Linked DNA regions of Homo sapiens: regions 1 and 3 are each linked to region 2. The links are contacts of gene promoters, found by promoter capture Hi-C in human tissues and cell types (Jung and others, 2019). All regions are on one chromosome and are shown on one strand. Each heading gives the region's core, a stretch centred on a gene start or on the middle of the fragment in contact. The rest is flanking DNA. Distances are from core to core; before and after follow the strand shown.

Region 1 (3,933 bases), core at 498-2,997, 370 kb after region 2:
TTTTACATAGGCTTCTAGAATTGGCTTTGATAGAACTCTGTTCCATAAGGAATCTCAGATAAGACTTTTTAAAAGCTGAGTCCAGCCATGGGTTTCTATCCTCAAATACCTATGAGTTTGGTAAATTCCTCTCCTCTTGAGGTCCTAAAATAACTTGGGCCTCCTGGGCCTATTAGAAAGTGACATTCTTTACCACAGGTCAGGAGCCCTGTATGGGGACTGTATAGACAAGTTATGAGGCCAGTTTTACCCACGGGGCTTTTATTGGCGCTATAAGTCCTTTGAATCCTTAAAGGAAAGCAGGCCATTCCAGTCAAAGCCTTGGTAAAATAACCAGTTTCTTCAATTGTTTCCTGTTGCAGAAGAGCCTTCCTTGCTTTCCTTTCTTTCCTTTCTTTCCCTCCCCCCACTCCCTCCCTACCTCTCTCCCTTCCTTCCTTCCTCTCTCTTCTCTTTCTTCCCTTCCCTTCCCTCCCCTCCCCTCCCCTTCACTTCTTTCCTTTCTTTTTTCTTTTCTTTTTTTTTTTTTGGACAGAGTCTCACTCTTTCATCAAGGCTGGAGTGAAGTGGCATGATCTCAGCTCACTGCAACCTCCTCTTCCCGGGTTCAAGCCATTCTCCTGCCTCAGGCTCCCAAGTAGCTGGGATTATAGGTGCACACCACCACGCCTGGCTAATTTTTATATTTTTAGTAGAGACGGGGTTTTGCCATGTTGGCCAGGCTGGTCTCGAACTCCTGACCTCAGGTGATCCACCTGCCTCGGCCTCCCAAAGTGCTAGGTTTACAGGCATGAGTCACCACGCCTGGCTGGCTGCATTTATTTCTTAGGGCCGCTCAAACAAACCTGCAAACTGAGTGGCTTAAAATAAATGTATCCTCTCATGGTTGTGGAGGCTGGGAGTCTGAGGTCGAGGTGTGGGTGGGCCCAGCTCCTCCTGAGATGCTGAGGTGGACCCTTCTTGCCTGTCTGTCTGGCAGCATTCCCGGCTTGGAGAAGCTTCCCTCAAATCTCTGCCTCCATCTTCTCCATCTTCTTGGTCATCTTCTCATGGTCTTCCCTCTGTCTCTGTGTCTAAATGTCCCCATTTTATAAGGATACCAGTCATGTTGGGTTAGTATCCACCCAGTGACCTCATTTGAGCTTGATTACCTCCATAAAGACACTGTTTCCAAGTAAGGTCACACTCTTAGGTACTGGGGGTGAGGCCTTGAACATAGTCTTTTTTGGGGAGCACAACTCAGCCCATAACAGGGCAGGCGGGCCTCCCAGGCCTCTCAGGGGCCAGGCTCATTACCTCCCTGACTTCCTGTCCAGCCAGCCAGGAGGCAGGGCTGTGCAGCCGGGCTGCCGGGTTCAAAGCCAGTTCTTTTTTTTTTTTTTTTTTTTTTTTTTTGAAACAGGGTCTCTCTGTCACTCAGGCTGGAGTACAGTGGTACAACCTTGGCTTACTGCAGCCTTGACCTCCTGGGCTCAAGTGATTCTCCCTCCTCAGCCTCACAAGTGGCTGGGATCACAGGTGCATGTCACCTTACCTGGGTAATTTTTATATTTTTTGTAGAGGTGGGGTTTTGCCGTGTTGCCCAGGCTGGTATCAAAAAATCCAGCTCCGTCATGTGAGCTGGCAATCTAATAGGAGCCATCAGATGGTGATGGTGGTGGCTTGCCTCAGAGACTGTGCAGCCTGGCTCAGCTGGAGCTAATGGGGATGTGGATCATCTCCTTTGCCATTTTTTATTTTGAGAGAAACTTCTTACTAAAATTTTGAAGATGTATCTGCTTCCTGGGAAAGAGATGGAGTAAGAAGGTGGGGTATGAACAGCAGCCCTGGTGGTAGGAACTGTCTCCCCACATGGTCTGGGACAGACGCTCAGGGAGTTTCTGGGAAGGAGTGTGTATGTCCCCATGTCCTCGTGAGTCCAGCCTGGTGACATTTGAGGAAGTGAGGCTAGATGTGCAATGTGCCACATGGACATGGGAGTCACGCAACCCCTGTCTTCACCAGAGACAGCTGTCAGCAGCAGAGCTTCCCCGGGGGCAGGACCCACCAGAGGGAAGCCAGGCCCACACTGCTCTCTGTCATTGCCTCTTTTGGGAGTTGCCATTTTATAAAGCAGGCAAATCCCACCTCAGGGTTCATGCGTTTATTTTAAATTTTTTGTTTTTCAGTTAAACTTATTTTAAAGTTGTGTTCACCAAAAGCAGTAAGACTACAATGGTATATAAGGAAAAAATTGCCCCCATTCTCCCCACACACACACTTTGAAGCTGTGTGAGCAGCCTGGCTTCTGTCTTTCTGTATATCCTCCCAGCCACATGTGGAGGTCGTGTTTCATTTGCATGTTTTTACAATAACAAAGTGGGGCTACCGCACCCGCACCCACAGTCACCTTGCTCCTCTCATCTGCCCGCAGGTCCTGGAGGTTCCTCCAGGTCTAAGGGCCCCATGGTCTTCCACAGTGTGAGGTGCTGGTTAATTCACTCGCTGTCCTGCTGGCAGATGACCTGGTAGATGCAGGACTTCTGCTGGGCCATTGCACTGACTTCATTCTGCTCTGCATGGGTCCTATGGATTCATCCCCCTCGCTGCCCCACACCTCACCTTCTGCTGTCTTTTCTGTGTTAGGCAGCAGTCCTGGAAACTTTGGAATCCCCTTTACCTTGTTTGCCACCCAACGTTCCGTTGGTCATCAGGTCCTGCAGCGCCATCCCCTTTCCTGCTGTCCTTCCCACTCCACCAGGCACCTGAGTTATTCGCAGGCTCAGCCTCCCCAGCCTCCCTCCTGGCTGGCCCATCCTTCAGACCTGTTGGGGATCTTTCCTTCCCTCATTTGCATCTTCTCACACCTAGAATGACCTTAGACCTTAGCGTTCCAGTCTCTACACAGACCTTGCCCTCACTGCAGTCTCTGTCCCTGCCCATGCTGGCTGGCCTCAGCCCATACCCTGCCTGAGGCTGGGCCTGCAGGTCTGGCACCATTGTAAGATTGCACAGGAAAAGGACTTGGTGCTTTCTGAGAGCTTCTGCAGTGTGTGCATGTGGGTGTGCATGTGTGTGTGTGCACGTGTGGATGCATATCTGTGCACGTGTGTGAGTATGCATGTTTGTGTGTACATGTGTGTATTCATCCACCAGTAATCCTAATTTCCATCTCTTTATTTCCTACAGTAAGAGTTCCCTATTTCATTGATTTGAAAAAACCACAGGATCAAGGTTTGAATCACACGTGTAACTACTACCTGCAGCCAGAGGAAGACGTGACCATTGGAGTCTGGTGAGTGCCAGTGAGCTCTGCAGCCCCTCCAGCAGCAGGAAAGGACCCTACATGACTGAGCTGGTGCTGTCTTTGACATTGGCCTCTGAAATGTTGTTCATTTTTATCTTCACCTCTTCCTTTCCTAAAGGAAAGATCTCAGTACATTTGATCCATCCTAATGTTGAGGGATTCAATGGCTTTAAACTCTATTCCCAGCCTTTCAAAACAGCAAAGGCTTTGTGAACAGATTATTATTTTTAGAGAGACTTGTTTCTAGGAAAAACGAAAAGCAAACAAAGAAGCTAGAAACAGGATATAAGTGGCCGGCACAGTGGCTCACACCTGTAATCCCAGCACTTTGGGAGGCTGAGGCAAGTGGATCACTTGAGTCCAGGAGTTTGAGACCAGCCTTGGCGACAAGGTGAAACCCCATCTCTACTAAAAATACAAAAATTAGCCAGGCATGGTGGTGCACACCTGTAATCCCAGCTACTTGGGAGGCTGAGGCAGGAGGATCACTTGACTCCAGGAGGCAGAAGTTGCAGTGAGCTGAGTTCACGCCACTGCACTCCAGCCTGGATGACAGAGCAAGACTCTGTGTCCAAAAAAAAGAGAATATAAGGGAAGAATCACAAACACTGGTTTGAATATATCTTCCATCCAGGCGCGGTGGCTCA
Region 2 (3,717 bases), core at 629-3,128:
CTATCCATCTGAAAAGAAAGTAATTGCCAGAATATATATAAGGAGCTAAAACAACTCAATAGGAAAAAGACAATCTGATATTTTAAATGGAGAAAAGATCTGAATAGGCATCTCTCAAAATAAGATATATGAACGGCCAACAAGTGTATGAAAAAAAATGCTCAATGCCACTAATCATCAGAGAAATGTAAATCAAAACCGCAATGAGATATAATGTCACCCCAGTCAAGATAGCTTTTATTCAAGAGACAGGCAATAGTGAATACTGGTGAGGGTGTGGATACACCCTCATACACTGTTGTTAGGAATGTAAATTAGTACAACCACTATGGAGAGCAGTATGGAGGTTCCTCAAAAGAATTAATAAATATATACATGATCCCGCAATCCCACTGCTGAGTATATATCCAAAAGAAAGGAAATCAGTATTTCAAGGATATATCTGCACTCTCATGTTTACTACAGCACTATCCAAAATAGTAAAGATATAGAATCAAAGTGTCTATCAACAGATGAATGGATAAGGAAAGTGTGGTACATTAACACAATGGGATATTAGCCAGTCATTAAAAGAATGAAATTCTGTCATTTTCAATAGCATGTATGAAAATGGAGGACATTATGTTAAGCGAAATGAGGCACAGCATGACAAATATCACATGTGCTCACTCATTTGTGGGGCTAAAAACGTGAACTCATGGAGATGGAGAGTAGAATGAGATAGTTAACAGAGGCTGGGAAGGATGGTGGGTAGAGGAGATAAAGAGGGACTTGTTAATCGATACAAAAATACAGTTAGAATGAATAAGATCTAGTAGTTGGTAGCACTATACAGTGACTATAGTTAAGAACAATTTTACTATATATTTAAAAATAAGAGAGAATTGGAAACTTCCTAAAACAAAGAAATGCTAAATGCTTGAGGGGATGGATACCCCAATCACCCTCATTTGACCATTAAACACTGTATGCCTGTATCAAAACATAACATGTACCCTATAAATATGTACAACTAATATTTATCCAGAATAATTAAAAATTTAAAAACCAAAAGAGAAAAAGCAAACAGCAAGTATACCTAGTAAAGGCCTGAAATATAAAGTCTACGTGGTTTGGCAAGCCACAAAAGATATCAGCATATTATACACCCTACATAATGAAAGAATTCTGGCATTGATGCATAATTAGATAAATGGGGGAACAATTAGAAATTGAAATGCAAATGTAAATTGAGTATACTGAATTATGTAGCTGAAACCTTAAATTATTTGGTAAAAGACTATATTTTTAATAAATTTAATGGGAAATTAATAAAATATTAGAAAATTTTAAAAATAATTGTATATTTACAGTGTGTACCTGGAGAAAAATTAAACCATTGAGAGATCTAAATGTGAATGATAAAACCACAAAATCCGTAGGAAAATCAGAGATCAAAAGTACTACATAGCAAAAAAAAGAAACAAAAGAAAAAAAAAAGACATACCCATAATCAAAAGACAGTGGGAAAATTATTTACCTATATCATAGAAATGGGAAAATATGCTTAATGTATGTATAGGGCTACCTAAATAAAAGAAATCGCCGGTTCTGAAAGGATCCCTCCACGTCCAAACGACCATAGGCTCGCCCCACCTGTCAGAGAGGAGTCCTTCCGAGAAGTCCTTCCAAGGATTCCGGGTCGCGCAGTCCCGGGTGGACCGCTATGACCAATATTCTGGGGCGTGTACCTGGACGACTCCCGAGGACTCTGGGGAGTGTAGTCCACCGAGGGGATGCGACGCGCAGGGTCGCATAGCCTCCGGGCCGCGCCGAGGATGCTGGGTAGCGTAGTCCCGGCCGCGCTGAGGATTCTGGGTAGTGTAGTCCCGGGCGGCGCAGAGCGTTCCAGATCCCTGGGCGTCAGCGAGCCGTGAGATGCGTGGTCCACCATCGGTGACCTCACCGCCTCGGTTCGCCCTCAGCCGCCCCGGTGAGCTGCGCTCCTGCGGGTCCCTCTCTGCAGCGCGCCCTTCCGGCGCAGGAAGAAGGGCCGGGAAGGCCTGGGACGTGAGGGCGCTGCTGGGGCCGTAGCGCGCGCTCCTCCAGGCCCGGCGTCTCCGCGTTCTGGGGAGGGGCGGAGACCCAGGCCGCGCCTTGAAGTGGGCGGTGGGGCTGCGGCTTGCCGAGCGCCCCGGGTCTGGGCCGCCACTCAGTCTCCGTTCCCGGTTGCGTGTAGTGGCGGCTCGGGCGGTGAACAGCCCGGATTTCACAGGGGCGCCGAGCAACCCAGGTCCTCTTGTGCCAGGGTCGCCGCTCCTCGGGTGGGGACGGGCCAGCGGCCTAGCGAGCTGCCACGGGGGTCTTTTGGCCGGAGGTGGAGGGGGACTCGGCCACAGCCAGGGTCCACTGGTGGGGTGGGGGTTACAGCCATGAGACGGATGGGCTAGGTCCGACTCGGGTTCCCTCCGACTCTGATGCTCCAGACTTTATTGTGGGAGGCGGGACAGGGGAGGACTTCGCCCGCGTGTTTTGGGGAAGGGCCGCTGCTTTGGGTTGGGAGCACCCCGCCTTGGGACGATCTTCCGCGGATAGGAGTGTAGGCCGGGACCAAATGTCCTCGCACGGGCACGTCTAGACGTGTTTTGGTGGGGGGGGGGGGGGATCTGCGTGGGGCAGCGTCCGCGGGAGGTGAGGTGGCTGTGGGGACCCAGGTGGCCTCTTCCCTGGGGCCTTGCTAATGACGGCAAAATCCGGGTTCTGCCAAAATATATTTAAAAAGGTTTATTCCTAGTCAGTATGAGTGACTGTGGCCCAGGTTATTCAGCCTCAAGAGGTCCTGTGAAAGTGCCCGAGATGGTCAGGCTTGCAGGTTAATTTTATACAATTCAGGGAGACAGGAATTTCAGGTAAAGTCATAAATCAGGCTGAGCAGTGTGGCTCATGCCTGTAGTCCCAGCACTTTGGGAGGCCAGGAGTTCCAGAGCAGCCTGGGCAGCACAGCAAGACCCTGTCTCTACATGAAATTAGAAAAATAAAAAAATTAGCGGGGCGTGGTGTCCCATGCCTGTGGCCTCAGCTACTTGGGAGGCCCAGTCAGTTGAGTCCAGGAGGTGGAGGCTGTAACCAGCTATGTTGGCTGCACTGCACGCTAGCCTGGGTAACACAGCGAGATCCTGCCTCCAAAAAGAAAATCATAAATCAATAAGAGAAAGATATACACGGGTTCCTCCCAAAAAGCTGGTATATCTCCAAAGGGTTTACACCTCATGGGGGCACTTAGGGATTCTTTAGTGGACAGTTGGTTGAGAGACTTAAGCTACTGCCTGAAGACTGGAATCAGAAGCATGCCAGAGTTAAGGGGATTGCGTAGATCAAAGTTCTTATTATGTAGATGAAGCCTCTTAGTTGGCAACTCTCAGAATAGATGGTAAATGTCTGTTTTCAGTTTTTTGGGTTTTTGTGTTTTTGTTTTTGTTTTTAGAGAGAGTCTTGCTCTGTCGCCCAGGCTAGAGTGCAGTGGCGTGATCTCAGCTCACTGCAACCTCCACCTCCCAGGTTTGAGCAGTTCTCCTGCCTCAGCCTCCTGAGTAGCTGGGACTACAGGCGCCCGCCACCACGCCTGGCTAATTTTTGTATTTTTAGTAGAGATGGGGTTTCACCATGTTGCTGAGGCTGGTCTTGACTTCCTGACCTCAGGTGATCCACCCACCTCTACCTCCCAAAGTGCTGGGATTA
Region 3 (3,734 bases), core at 1,075-3,574, 490 kb after region 2:
ATCTAAATATTTCACTACTGTAATAAGTTAAAAAATAACGCAGATGGAGTCAAAAGTAAATAAAATACACCACTCAGCTTTGGAGACAGCAGCTAGAAATGTCCAGCACCAGCAGAACCGTGCAATGCCAGGATGGTGTCTACCCCACAGGTTCCAGGTCAGCCAAGAAGAGCATGGGACACCCAGGGGACCTGCCTGACAGGGGCTGCAAACTCTCACTGGCTACAGCTAGAGAGACATGGAGGGCGAACCTCAGGGTCACGGGCACGAGAGGGGCATCAGGGAACCAAGGGAAGAGGGTGGTTGGAGAGCAGAGGAACCGGGTGGCGAGGGGGACCCCTCAAGAGAAGCCGCCCACCCCGGCCTGAGGCCCACCCTAGAAGCATAGCCAACGAAGCCCAGGCTCCAGCTCCCTTATCCAGCTGAGACCCCTCTCGGCTGTTGCCCCTGGCCATCTTGGCCCACCTGGCAGCTCCCGGTCAAGCCCAGGAGCCTTTATTATTTATCTGACTTTCCTGATTTTCTGGCTCCCATGGGACTGAATCTGGGGATACTTCCTGCCTGAACTCCCCACAAAGCCCCAAACACAACCACTGGCCTAAATCATGGTCCTAGCCACCTGACCTGCTGGTGAATGTGGGGAGGGGACAGGCCACCAAACACCTCAAGGTCTCAGCTGCCCTTCAGCATGGTCACCACTCACTAGTGTAAGAGTGATCTGGGACTCCCGGGAAATTCAGATGCTTGGACCCCAGCCCATACCAGCGTCAGCATCTCTGGGAAACTGCATTTAGACAAGCTCCCAGGTGAGTCTGTGGCAGGGGACCCGGCCAACACTGTAGCACAGGGGAGGAGATCCCGAGAGCCCTGCCATGAGAGGCGGGTACCTCTGGGGGGCCGGGTGAACTGGAAGACGTGTACTCGGGTGCCAGTGCTTCCTGCATCAAACATGATCCCGTAGAAGACCTCGTGCCCGTCTGCAGCTGTCCCCAGGGGGCTGTGGGCCTGCTGACCCCACCGGGCCCCCGGGGCTGCCCTGGTGATGCTGAAGAAGGCCTGGGTGGCGGTGGCCCGGTGCCACTTGATGTAGGCAACATAGATGAACACGCCCACACACAGCCCCAGGGGGTATGCCACCTTCGCCACCCGCAGGCTCCCGTGGTTGGATATTTTTCTCATCCTTGTTTGCCAAGGACCGTGCTGCGGCTGCTGGTGGGAAGGGGGGAGAGGCAGGAAAAGCACGTTAGGGTGCTAGGATCCAAGGAGAGTCAGACGTCCCCAGGCCCAGGGACAAAATGTTCAACCTGAAACTGCTCCGTGTTCCCCCCAGGAATCAGAAGCTTCATTTGAGCCTCATAATTATTCCAGAAGGTGTGATCCCCATCCTACAGAAGAGGAACTGAGGTTTATAAAGGCAGGACAGCCTGCTCAAGGTCGCACACATTGCAGCTGCTGACCTGGTGCACAGACCACAGTGGCTGGCTCCTCTAAGGGAGGGTCCCACCAGCTTGGGACACATGGCGATTTATGTAAAAGAAGCCACATGTAAATGGTGTTCCCAAACTGTTCATGGGAACAGAAGCGCGTATCTGATTCAGTCTTTCAATCCTCAGTTATACTTCTATTCAGGCAATTTACTTTTCGAAAGGTTTAAACTCCGTCCCTTGGGCAACTACTGAGAGCCCCAGACAAACCTGAAAAATGTAGCTCGTTTTTCTGGAAGTTTCATAACGGATACCTTTTTTCATTCACATAGCCCATTCCTGCCAAGGAGAAAATAATGTCTGTGTACTTCCAAAGCCTACAAAAATTCTACTAGAGTAGCAAAATAAATTCACTGGGTGCCATTGTTTTTGGTTCGATATACCCAAAATGAAAGCATTTGTTCAAGTTTCATTGGCTGCTCCAGTGCGAGGCAGCATGTGGGAACCTGAGGCTTCAAAGGACAAGAAGTGTGGGCCGACTCTAGGGCCCCCAACCTTGGGGAACGTCCATCAGCCTGTCCCTCCCTCACTCTCTCAGTCGGTCCTGGTGAGTGGCCACTCCTAGGGGAGCAGGGATCAGGAGGATGCCGGGCTGGAAGTGGCACCGGCTCTGCCCGCAGCTACGTGTGACAGTGGGCAACATGCCCCTCAAGGGGGCCAGTTTCATCTGCAAGGTGGGGCTGCTCATTGGAGAGCCCCTCGTGACTGTGGGGATTCAATGTGCTCAGAACAGGCTGCAGGGAAAGCACGTGCCACATGCGGGCTTTACAGAAGGGCAGCAGGAGGTGACATCTCTGTGGAACCAAGGACAGCATGGCTGCACTGCTGAGGAGGGGGCAGTAGCAGTCAAAGGAGCAAGCCCGCAGCGACCTGCGCTACCTGAGGCTGTTTGGGCACAGCAGAACGGAAGGACAGGGCCCGCGGGGCAAAGCACGGGGAGCAGGCCATTCCTGGCCCCTCCTTCCTGAGGTCCCGCCTGTGGCCACAGCTGGATATCCTCAGGCCCAGAGAGGTAAGACAAGCACTGCCACAGTGCCCCGTGCCGAGGGGAGAGGCCTCACCAGTGGCCTGGCCACCCACACTGGAGCAGGAGACAGGAAAAACCACCCTTCCCTGAGCATCTGCCACGGGCAGGGCTGCAAAAAGCCTCTCCTGGCAGGTGCCAACGTGCAGCCCCTCCCCAGCCCTATTCTGGGCCTGGGTCCCACCACACTCGGGGGCTTCCCACAGCTCTCAGGATCATGTTGCAGCCTCTGCCTGGGCCTGTCCCTGCCGGCCCCTGTCCCTGCTGGCCCCTGTGGCTTCATCGCACTCCTCTTTCGTCCTTGCCCACAGTGCTCTGAGAACAGTGCCTTCTTCTGCCCCTAGAACTCAGCCTCTCCCTGCCTCAGGCCCCTGGCACAGACTGATACGCATTCCCAGAATACTTGTCCCACCACACTGGCACCGTGTCTTCATTCTGAAACCTCCACTGAAATGTCACTGCCACCCCCTTCCCGGATGCCCCCAACCTGCACATGCCCCATCACGCACTCTCTGAGCTCCCTTTACCCACCACCAGCAGTGATGAAACCAGTATTCATAGACCTGATTCCTGTAGGTCTGTGTCTCCCCACTAGGCCATGAGCCCCCAGGGCAGGGACTCAGCTTGTCTTGTGCTGCTGCTGCCCAGCATGGCATCCAAGCCCTTCTCTAGAATGGAAGAGGCTGCTCCTCTACCCCCGCACCTTCTATAACGTCACCAGACACACAACAGAGTCCTGTAGAAAATCCATAAACAGGGAGAGGACACAGCAAGACGGCAAAAGAGGAAGCTCAAAGGCCCTTGTTCCCCCACAGAGAAACACTAAAAACAACTAGAGACTGGTTAAAATATTGCATAGGAGCTCTGCAAAACAGGCAACGATCTACAGCAACCAAGAGAATGCCCAGCCCAGAAGCAGCCACATTCAGGATGTCAGGAACTCTGAGGTGTTTCACTCACCCCTGCCCCAGGCCTCCCCAGCATGGCACCACCTGATGAATGCGGCAGCCCGGTTCCCAATTCCTTCCCTTGAACTGGAGGGAGCAGAGCGGACCTTTCTGCAACATCCTAATCTGTCTTGGGCTGCCTGAGGAACAGATCTCTGTTTCACCTGACTCTGAGCTCAGAGCCCAGATAGGAAGTCAGGGAAATGGTTATGGGCACTGCTAGGCAAAGCTGTAGGATGACTATAGCCCCACGCATACCTGGGGCAAGAATGACAGGTG

Evidence for each region. Contacts are between HindIII fragments. The study calls those that stand out against the background at their distance.
Region 1: a contact is called between a fragment that was not itself captured here and the fragment with the promoter of ZNF337 in region 2, in 1 of the 25 tissues and cell types used here (hippocampus).
Region 3: a contact is called between a fragment that was not itself captured here and the fragment with the promoter of ZNF337 in region 2, in 1 of the 25 tissues and cell types used here (lymphoblastoid cells).

Annotation. Positions count from the first base shown.
Region 1 is chr20:25,322,666-25,326,598 of GRCh38, reverse strand. It overlaps ABHD12 (abhydrolase domain containing 12, lysophospholipase), which reads left to right. Exons shown (of 13, transcript NM_001042472.3): 3 at 3,169-3,274. Among named protein-coding and RNA genes, the nearest start is that of ABHD12, 66 kb to the left of the region's middle. The HindIII fragment of the contact is 7,604 bases long and covers 1-3,933 here.
Region 2 is chr20:25,695,014-25,698,730 of GRCh38, reverse strand. ZNF337 (zinc finger protein 337) reads left to right here and starts at 1,878. Exons shown (of 5, transcript NM_015655.4): 1 at 1,878-1,972. LOC107985400 (a long non-coding RNA gene) reads right to left here and starts at 1,690. Exons shown (of 2, transcript XR_007067557.1): 1 at 1,568-1,690. RefSeq lists an enhancer at 2,365-2,474. The HindIII fragment of the contact is 16,641 bases long and covers 1-3,717 here.
Region 3 is chr20:25,204,551-25,208,284 of GRCh38, reverse strand. ENTPD6 (ectonucleoside triphosphate diphosphohydrolase 6) reads right to left here. Exons shown (of 15, transcript NM_001247.5): 2 at 1,695-1,763; 3 at 888-1,209. The coding sequence starts at 1,748. Among named protein-coding and RNA genes, the nearest start is that of ENTPD6, 11 kb to the right of the region's middle. The HindIII fragment of the contact is 3,524 bases long and covers 563-3,734 here.